Linked DNA regions of Homo sapiens: regions 1 and 3 are each linked to region 2. Evidence: promoter capture Hi-C in human tissues and cell types (Jung and others, 2019). All regions are on one chromosome and are shown on one strand. Each heading gives the region's core, a stretch centred on a gene start or on the middle of the fragment in contact. The rest is flanking DNA. Distances are from core to core; before and after follow the strand shown.

What was found. The method cuts DNA at HindIII sites, captures the fragments that hold promoters and counts their contacts. A contact is called where the count stands out against the background at its distance.
Region 1: a contact is called between a fragment that was not itself captured here and the fragment with the promoter of MRPS12 in region 2, in 1 of the 25 tissues and cell types used here (pancreas).
Region 3: a contact is called between the fragment with the promoter of RASGRP4 here and the fragment with the promoter of MRPS12 in region 2, in 1 of the 25 tissues and cell types used here (H1 embryonic stem cells).

The regions. Positions count from the first base shown.
Region 1 is chr19:38,594,001-38,596,870 of GRCh38, reverse strand. MAP4K1 (mitogen-activated protein kinase kinase kinase kinase 1) reads left to right here. Exons shown (of 31, transcript NM_001042600.3): 26 at 385-559; 27 at 870-932; 28 at 1,142-1,231; 29 at 1,316-1,386. MAP4K1-AS1 (MAP4K1 antisense RNA 1) reads right to left here and starts at 524. Exons shown (of 3, transcript NR_134907.1): 1 at 435-524. RefSeq lists an enhancer at 1-137. The HindIII fragment of the contact is 8,643 bases long and covers 1-2,870 here.
Region 2 is chr19:38,929,448-38,932,342 of GRCh38, reverse strand. It overlaps MRPS12 (mitochondrial ribosomal protein S12), which reads right to left and starts at 1,399. Exons shown (of 3, transcript NM_033362.4): 1 at 1,345-1,399; 2 at 1,000-1,067; 3 at 1-10. The coding sequence starts at 1,048. SARS2 (seryl-tRNA synthetase 2, mitochondrial) reads left to right here and starts at 1,580. Exons shown (of 16, transcript NM_017827.4): 1 at 1,580-1,873. The coding sequence starts at 1,607. RefSeq lists an enhancer at 1,496-1,955. The HindIII fragment of the contact is 13,053 bases long and covers 1-2,895 here.
Region 3 is chr19:38,424,661-38,427,549 of GRCh38, reverse strand. RASGRP4 (RAS guanyl releasing protein 4) reads left to right here and starts at 1,331. Exons shown (of 17, transcript NM_170604.3): 1 at 1,331-1,481. The coding sequence starts at 1,459. RefSeq lists an enhancer at 1-503 and a silencer at 1,396-1,455. The HindIII fragment of the contact is 24,204 bases long and covers 1-2,889 here.

The DNA of each region.
Region 1 (2,870 bases), core at 259-2,758, 340 kb after region 2:
CTTCTGAAGCCATCCTGATCCTTAAGCGCCGCCCCTCACACCTGGGCCTAATTATTCCTCAGGCTCAATGCTGCCACTCCCTGGGTGTCCTAGTAGAGCCCATTTAGAGCCTGTCTCTTTGAGTGTCTAAGCAGGTTTTGCTATCTTTGGGGCCCTGCCCGTCTGCCGCCAAGGTGGCATGCCCCCACATGGAAGCCACACCCACTCGGAGGTCACGACCCCCGTTCCCGCGGAGGCACCAGGCCTTATCCCCTGACATTTCTAGACGGCATCCCCCAAGACTTAGGGCCCTGGTTCGGAAGTCCCAGGCCAGCTACAAGCCACGCCCCCTGAGGCCCCGTCCTGAACCACCCCCTAGCCCGCCCCTCCCTGTGCGGCCCGCAGCAGGTGCTGTTCCCACTGCCGACGCCTCTGTCCGTGTTCGCGCTGCTGACCGGGCCAGGCTCTGAGCTGCCCGCTGTGTGCATCGGCGTGAGCCCCGGGCGGCCGGGGAAGTCGGTGCTCTTCCACACGGTGCGCTTTGGCGCGCTCTCTTGCTGGCTGGGCGAGATGAGCACCGGTGAGTGGGGCGGAGTCTTGCTGAGGGCGGGGCTTATCAGATCCGGAGGGGCGGAGCTGGAGGCGGGGCTTCGCTTAGCCTGAGGCACTACGGGACTGAGAAAGGGCTGGAAGGGCGGAGAAGGGAGAATGGCAGGTTTTAGTTAACTGGGGAGATTGATGATGGGGTGGGACCGGGATGGTGGGCGGGGTTTAGCCCACTTGCTTGTGAACTGAGGCGGTGGCTAAAGCACAGGTACTGGCCTTCTGGGGGTGGTGTGGGGAAAGGGGAATGGGGTGGGGTCAATCCTTAACCCACTCCCCCCAAACAGAGCACAGGGGACCCGTGCAGGTGACCCAGGTAGAGGAAGATATGGTGATGGTGTTGATGGATGGTGAGAACCCTCCTTCCTCCCCTTCCTCCCCACCCCTCCAGCTGCAGTCCCTAGATCTCTGCCTCCGAACTTGTGCTTCTCAGAACCCCCTGAGCCCCTCTGGGCCTTGCCCCTGTCCTACATAGCTTTCACACTGAATTTATGGATTGGTCCCTTAGTAACCCTCTAAGCCTTGCTCACAGTTCTTAAAACCGTCTATCTCCTTCCAGGCTCTGTGAAGCTGGTGACCCCGGAGGGGTCCCCAGTCCGGGGACTTCGCACACCTGAGATCCCCATGACCGAAGCGGTGGAGGCCGTGGGTCTGTGCAGGGACGGGAGAGCCCAGGATCAGGGGTGGAAACTCAAGTGATCCCCAAGGGTAACGGGCATTGCTTTCTCCCCAGCTATGGTTGGAGGTCAGCTTCAGGCCTTCTGGAAGCATGGAGTGCAGGTGTGGGCTCTAGGCTCGGATCAGGTAAGCCCCTCCATCCAAACTCCACATCACTGCCCCCCAGCCTCCATCATGACATTCATCAGATGGGCTCCGAGAACTCCTGAGTCAGAGTGTGAAGTCCTGGAGGGGAAACATCTTCCAAATTTCAGTTCAGATAGATCCCCTTCTTTGCCCCAGGATTTATTTTTTATTTTATTTTTATTTATTTATTTATTTAAGACGGAGTTTCACTCTTGTTGCCCAGGCTGGAGTGCAGTGGTGCGATCCCGGCTCACTGCAACCTCCACCTCCCGGGTTCACGCGATTCTCCTGCCTCGGCCTCCCAAGTAGCTGGGATTACAGGCATGCGCCACCACAGCTGGCTAATTTTTGTATTTTCAGTAGAGACGGGGTTTCACCATGTTCATCAGGCTGGATGGTCTTGAACTCTTGACCTGGGGTGATTCACCCGCCTTGGCCTCCCAAAGTGCTGGGATTACAGCTGTCAGCCACCACACCCGGCCTATTTTATAGATAGATAGATAGATAGATAGATAGATAGATAGATAAAATTTATTTATTTTTGGAGATGGATTCTTGCTCTGTCACCCAGGCTGGAGTGTAGTGGCGCGATCTCGGCTCACTGCAGCCTCTGCCTCCCAGGTTCAAAGAATTCTCCTGCCTCAGCCTCCTGAGTAGCTGAGACTACAGGTGCATGCCGCCATGCTTAGCTAATTTTTTTGTATTTTTAGTAGAGACAGGGTTTCACCATGTTGCCCAGGCTAGTCTCAAACTCCTGAGCTCAGCCAATCTGCCTTCCTTGGCCTCACAAAGTGCTAGGATTACAGGTGTGAGCCACCACTCCTGGCCATTTTTATATATTTTTTGAGACAGAGTCTCGCTCTGTCACCCAGGGCAGAGTGCAGTGGCATGATCCGAGCTCACTGCAACCTCTGCCTCCTGGGTCCAAGTGATTCTCCTGCCTCAGCCTCCCGAGTAGCTGGGATTACAGGTACACTCCATCATGCCCAGGTAATTTTTGTATTTTTAGTAGAGACGGGGTTTTGTCATGTTGGCCAGACTGGTCTCGAACTCCTGACCTCAAGTGATCTGCCCGCCTCAGCCTCCGAAAGTGCTGGGAGTACAGGCGTGAGCTACTTCACCCGGCCTGTTTGTTTTGGAGATAGGGTCTCTCTCTCTTGTCCAGGCTGAAGTGCAGTGGTGCAACCATAGCTAGCTGTAGCCTTGACTTTCTGGGCTCAAGCAATCCTCCCTCCTCAGCCTCTCAAGTGGCTTGGATTACAGGTGTGAGCCACTGCACCTGGCTGCTCTTGGATTTCTTGAGTCCCAATCTCATCCTGGGCCACTACTGTGACCTTGGGCTGGCAACGTTGCTTCTCTTTAAGCTTCTGTTCCCCAACTGTAAAATGGGGACCACTATAGAGATATATGGATAGTTAAGACAAGACTGTCTGGGTTGGAATTCAGCTGAGTGGCCTTGGGCAAATGACTTAACCTTCCTGTGC
Region 2 (2,895 bases), core at 150-2,649:
AGAGCTGGGCCTGGAGAGGGCCGAAAGGGGTTATTATCCCAGAGAACAGATCTTAGAGTAGTAGCAACTCAATTTTGGTGTTTTAGGCATTGTTTAAAGCACTTTACAAAGATGCATTTGTTCACATCTAATGTTATCTACAGACAAAAGTAACTCTTTATTCTTCAAGGAAGCATTACCTTTTTTTTTTTTTTCTTTTTTTTTTTTGAGACAAAGTCTCACTCTGTCGCCCAGGCTGGAGTGCAGTACCTCAATCTTGGCCCACTGCAACCTCTGCCTCCTGGGTTCAAGCAATTCTCCTGTCTCAGCCTCCTGAGCAGCTGGGACTACAGGCACCCACCACCACGCTCGGCTAATCTTCGTATTTTTAAGTAGAGACGGGGTTTCACCATGTTGGTCAGGCTGGTCTCGAACTCCTGACCTCGGCCTCTCAAAGTGCTGGGATTACAGGCGTGAGCCACCACGGCTGGCCAGGAAGCATTATTTTTAATGCTGTTTAAAATAATAGTAGGCTCAGTGGCTCATGCATGTAATCCTAGCACTTTTGGAGGCTGTGGAGGGTCACTTGAGCTCAGGAGTTAAGGCCAGACTGGGCGACACAGGGAGACCTCCCTCTCTACAAAGAATCAAAAAGTTAGCTGGTTGTGGTTCTGCAGGCCTGTGGTCCCAGCTACTTGGGAGGCTGAGGCGGGAGGATCACTTGAGCCCAGGAGGTCGAGACTGCAGTGAGCTGTGATCACACCGCTGCACTTCAGCCTGGGCGACAGAGGGAGATCTTAAATAAATAAATAATAAAACTGACCCAAACGCCGCTTGACACGCAGTAGCCCTCCATGCAGCTGCTTCCCACCTCTTGCTCTAGCAGCCCTAGCTCTGCCAAAACCCCACCGTGTTTTTCCACCCCCGTTTCCCTCGGGGCTCCGACGGAGGCACACAAGTCCAAGAGCGAATAACCCTCCCCCTCTAGCCTCGTCCCTGAAGCCCAAGTCCCCCACTTACCACAAGTTAGGGACGTGTTGAGGCCATGGAGAAGGCCAGACCAGGACATCCTGCCACCTGGGCCGTCCCTGTGGTAGGGGATAAGAGACTCAGAAAGGAGGAAAAAGTGACCGATCCGCAAATGCTCCCCGATCCGCTCTCAGGACTTTCTGGCTTAAATCAAAGGAAATACCTCTATAGGTCTAACCACAGGCCCTCATGCTGCTAACAGAAAGTCCCTCCGTAAATTTAGCCTCGCTCTGAGTGGGTTCCCGAGGGCCCAACCACTCTCGCCCGCACGCAGGAAGAACTGGGAAACTGGGGAGATGGCCTGGTAGATTTGGAGGACCCCAGGATTCCACCGACCTCACAGGACCTAAAGGTGAGGTCGCGGACACGCTGAATCCAGCTTCTAGCCTCTTCCGGGCGCTATCCGTGCAGGGATTGGCTGGTTCTGCCTCGCGTCACTGAAGAGGCGGGACACAGACGACGATTGGGCGACGAAGGACTCTATCGCGGTCAACTTTCCTCAGGATCTGATTGGCTCGTCACGGTCAGGTTCGCTGCCTTGCAATTGGTCTAAACGCGGAGTGGGCGGGACGAAGTGCCGCCTTGTTCCCGGTCCAAGATGGCTGCGTCCATGGCGCGGCGCTTGTGGCCTTTGCTGACTCGTCGGGGGTTCCGGCCCCGGGGAGGCTGCATCTCCAACGATAGTCCAAGGAGAAGTTTCACTACAGAGAAACGAAACCGGAACCTCCTGTACGAGTATGCGCGCGAGGGCTACAGCGCACTCCCTCAGCTGGACATAGAGCGGTTCTGCGCATGCCCAGAAGAGGCCGCACACGCCCTGGAGCTCCGCAAGGGGGAGCTGCGCTCGGCGGACCTGCCCGCGATCGTGAGTGCGCCTGCGCCGGCCGGGGGGCGCAGACGTTTGCTTTACGGAAGAATTGGGTTTGCAAGATGCCCTCCGGCAGGGGGCGAACCTGTAGTAGGAATTTTAGTTATTTCCCAAGTTAGCCAACGTCTTGTGCATGGCACCCACTTATGTGCCAGTTGTCCAGTGAGTGCTGAGGCCCTACTATGTGCCAAGAATGCCTACTGTGTCCTGGACACCCATTATGCGCTTGTTTCATACTGCTCGCTGGGTACCTCCTGTCCTTTAGGAACTTGCTATGTGACATTGCCCTCCGTGCTGCAACCTCATGCCAGCCTTTCCCTAAGACCACAAAGGAAAATGGGGAGCCAAGTGTGAATCGGACGGGGTCAGGGCTGGGGTGTGGTGGAGCTCTTGCGTTTAGAGAGAGAGGTAGGGAGAGTTGTGCACCTCCGCCACACATAGCAGGCAGTTAAATAGAGTTAATGAATGAATGAATGAATCCATTAATGAATGGTTCTATTAAACTGATACTTAAGGTGCAACTGCTATATTCCGGTGTTCTAGATGTTGCAAATATGCGGTGAATAATAATAAAATTGCTAGCACTTATAAAAGGGAATTAGGACCGGGTTCACAATATCTCTGTGTTGAGGTGCTAACGATAGTGGGGTCCCCACGTCTTCCCATTCCTCTCTTGGACTCCCCTCCCAGCCTGTTTGAAGTGCTTTATTCACTTTAACCTCGTTTAATTTTCACAGCAACTCTATGAAGTAGGTGCCATTATTTCTCCCATTTTATCAGAGGGGAAACTAAGGCTTCGAGAAGCTAATTCACTTGCGCTAGGTCATGCAACTGGGAAGTGGCAGAGTGGGAATTTTAACCTGTGCTTTCTGGCCTAGAATCCACTTTTTTTTTTTTTTTTTTTGAGATAGGGTGTTGTTCTGTCGCCCAGGATGGCAGGATGGAGTACAGTGGTACAATTATAGCTCACTGGAACCTTGAATTCCTGAGCTCAAATAATCCTCCCACTCAGCCTCCCG
Region 3 (2,889 bases), core at 82-2,581, 500 kb after region 2:
GCACATGTTTATATGATGTGCTTAAACGCACAGACAGCAGTTTGGACGAAACTCGACAACGTGTCATATTGGTCACACCCTGCTTAAGAAAGGCAGGGGATGGGGAGGGGCTTCCCCAAGGCTTTACCTCCATCTCTAATGTTTTTTGATGTGTGTGTGTGTTTTTTTTTTTTGTTTTTTGTTTTTTGAGACAGGGTCTGGCTCTGCCACGCAGACTGAAGTGCAGTGGCACCATCATGGTTCACTGCAGCCTCGACCTCCTTGGGCTCAAGCAATCTTCTAGCCTCAGCCTCCTGAGTAGCTGGGACTACAAGTGTGCATCACTACGCTCAGCTAACTTTTTTTTTTTGAGACAGAGTTTCGCTCCTGTTGCCCAGGCTGGAGTGCAATGGCGCGATCTCGGCTCACGGCAACCTCCGCCTCCTGGGTTCAAGCAATTCTCCTGCCTCAGCCTGCCGAGTAGCTGGGATTACAGGCATGTGCCACAACGCCTGGCTAATTTTGTATTTTTAGTAGAGACGGGGTTTCTCCATGTTGCTCAGGCTGGTCTTAAACTCCCAACCTCAGGTGATCCGCCCACCTCGGCCTCCCAAAGTGCTGGGATTGCAGGAGTGAGCCACCACACCGGCCTAACGTTTTACATTTTTTGTAGAGACGGGGTTTTGTCACGTTGTTCAAGCTGGTCTCAAACTCTTAGACTCAAGCGATCCGCCTGCCTTGGCCTCCCAAAGTGCTGGATGACAGGCGTGAGCCCCTGTGAGCCCCCGTGCCTGGTCCGGTATGTAATTTTTTTTAAGGTAACAGTGGATTGTGTGAGGATTAAATGAGTTAATATTTTTAAAGTCCTTACAGCAGTGTGTGGTACACAGTAGGTGCTATGTGGAGGTTTGTTACAATAAAGTCAGAAAGTGAAAATGTTTTCCAGGGTACAAATGGTATCACTTAAACTAGGAATAAGAGACGCCTATGAAGAAATATACAAAATACTATGTCTTGTGAGTTTCCATTCAAACCTTCATGAATTATATATATGAATATGTCCTTCTAGACAGACAGACTTATCTTTTTGAGTGAGTGTGTGTGTTTTTACATAAATATCAGTCATGCTTTAAAAAGAAAAGCCCCTTCTTTTATTGAAGTATGACAGTGACGGGTCTCGACACCGAAAGATGGGGGAGATAGAGAGCCCGCCGGGGAGCTTGAGGGTGGGAGAGCCAGCGATGCCGGAAACCTCAGCAGAAGGGATCCCCGTGTGGGGGAGGGGGGCCTTCGGTCTCTCCCCAGCCTCTTCCTTCCCCCTGGCCTGAGGGTGGGTGGGGAGGGGCAGTTCCTCTTTCCTTCCCAAGCACCGAGGAGGCCCCAGCTCCCTAGGGGCTGAGAAGCTGGAGTCCTGGGCAAGGGGAGGAGCTGAGCCCTACTCTTGCAAGACCCCCGGCCTCCTCACCCCACGCGGGAAGCATGAACAGAAAAGACAGTAAGAGGTGAGAGGACCCTCCCCAGGGAGCCCGGCAGCACCCTGAGGCCTCCCTCTGCATGGGAGGGCTGGGGAGATCACTCGCCAGGGTGGCAGGATTCCTGACTTCTTTGGGATCAGGCGCAGGGGGGCCAGGTGGATGCTTCAGGGAGTCTGGAGCCAGCTACGGCTGCAGTCGCTTGTATGTGGCATCTGTACCGTGTTGTCCCTGGAGTTTGAGCTGCTCCGTGCCCCTTTTCCACTCCTCATCACCCCACCTCCATCCCTGGCCTGGGCTGAGTGTCTCTGCCCTCCCTGGGGGCTTCCTGGTTCCCCATCCCCGTGGACTGGAAACTCCAGGCTCCTGCAGGGCCTGGCCCAGGAGAGGGGAGTGTGGCACAGGGCAAGGCGACTCCCCTGCCTCTTAAACCACTCCTGGCTGTTCCAGACCCCTACAGGGGGCTGCAGGACAGGGCCTAGTGGCTGGCTGTGCGGCCGGTTCTGGAATGGGCTTCATCTCCTGGGCAAGCTGGCCCTTCTGTCCCCACAGAGGCAGATGGTGGGTGGCTCCCTAGCCTGGGTAACTCCTCCTGCCACCCCCAGCACCACTCTGATGGGCAAAGGGCTTTCCTCCCCACCCAGCAGTTTAGTGGTAGACTCCTGGCTGCCTAATTTCCTAGCTGTGTGACCTTAGGTAAGTCACTTAACTGCTCTGTGTCTCGGGTTTTTCTTCTGTCAGTAGAACAATCATATCCTCTACCTCGGAGAGGCCTGTAAGTACTCAATGAGACACTCTAGACCAGTGGTTCTCAAACTGGAGCGAGCCTCAGAACTGTCTGGAGGGCTTGTAAAATACAGGTTGCTGGGCTTACCTTTAAAGTGTTTGGTTTTTTTTTTTTTGTTTTTTTTTTTTGAGACGGAGTCTCGCTCTGCCGCCAGGCTGGAGTGCAGTGGCACAATCTTGGCTCACTGCAACCTCTGCCTCCCGGGTTCAAGCGATCATCCTGCCTCAGCCTCCCAAGTAGCTGGGACTACAGGTGTGCACCACCACACCCAGCTACTTTTTTGTATTTTTAGTAGAGATGGGGTTTCACCATGTTGGGCAGGATGGTCTCGATCTCTTGACCTCGTGATCCACCCACCTCGGCCTCCCAAAGTGCTGGGATTAGAGGCATGAGCCACCACCCTTAGCCTTAAAGTGTTTGATTTTGTAGGTCTGGGTTGGGACCTGAGAATCTGTATTGATATCCAGTTCCCAGGTGATGCTTTTGGTACTAGCTGGGTGCCCACACTTAGGGAAATGCTGACTTAGTTAGAATGCTCCTTCCTTAGCCTAGGACATATATAATACTTTAAAATGTCCCTTCTAGTAACGATGGCTCATGCCTCTAATCCCAGCACTTTGGGAGGATAAGACAAGGAGAACTTGAAGCCAG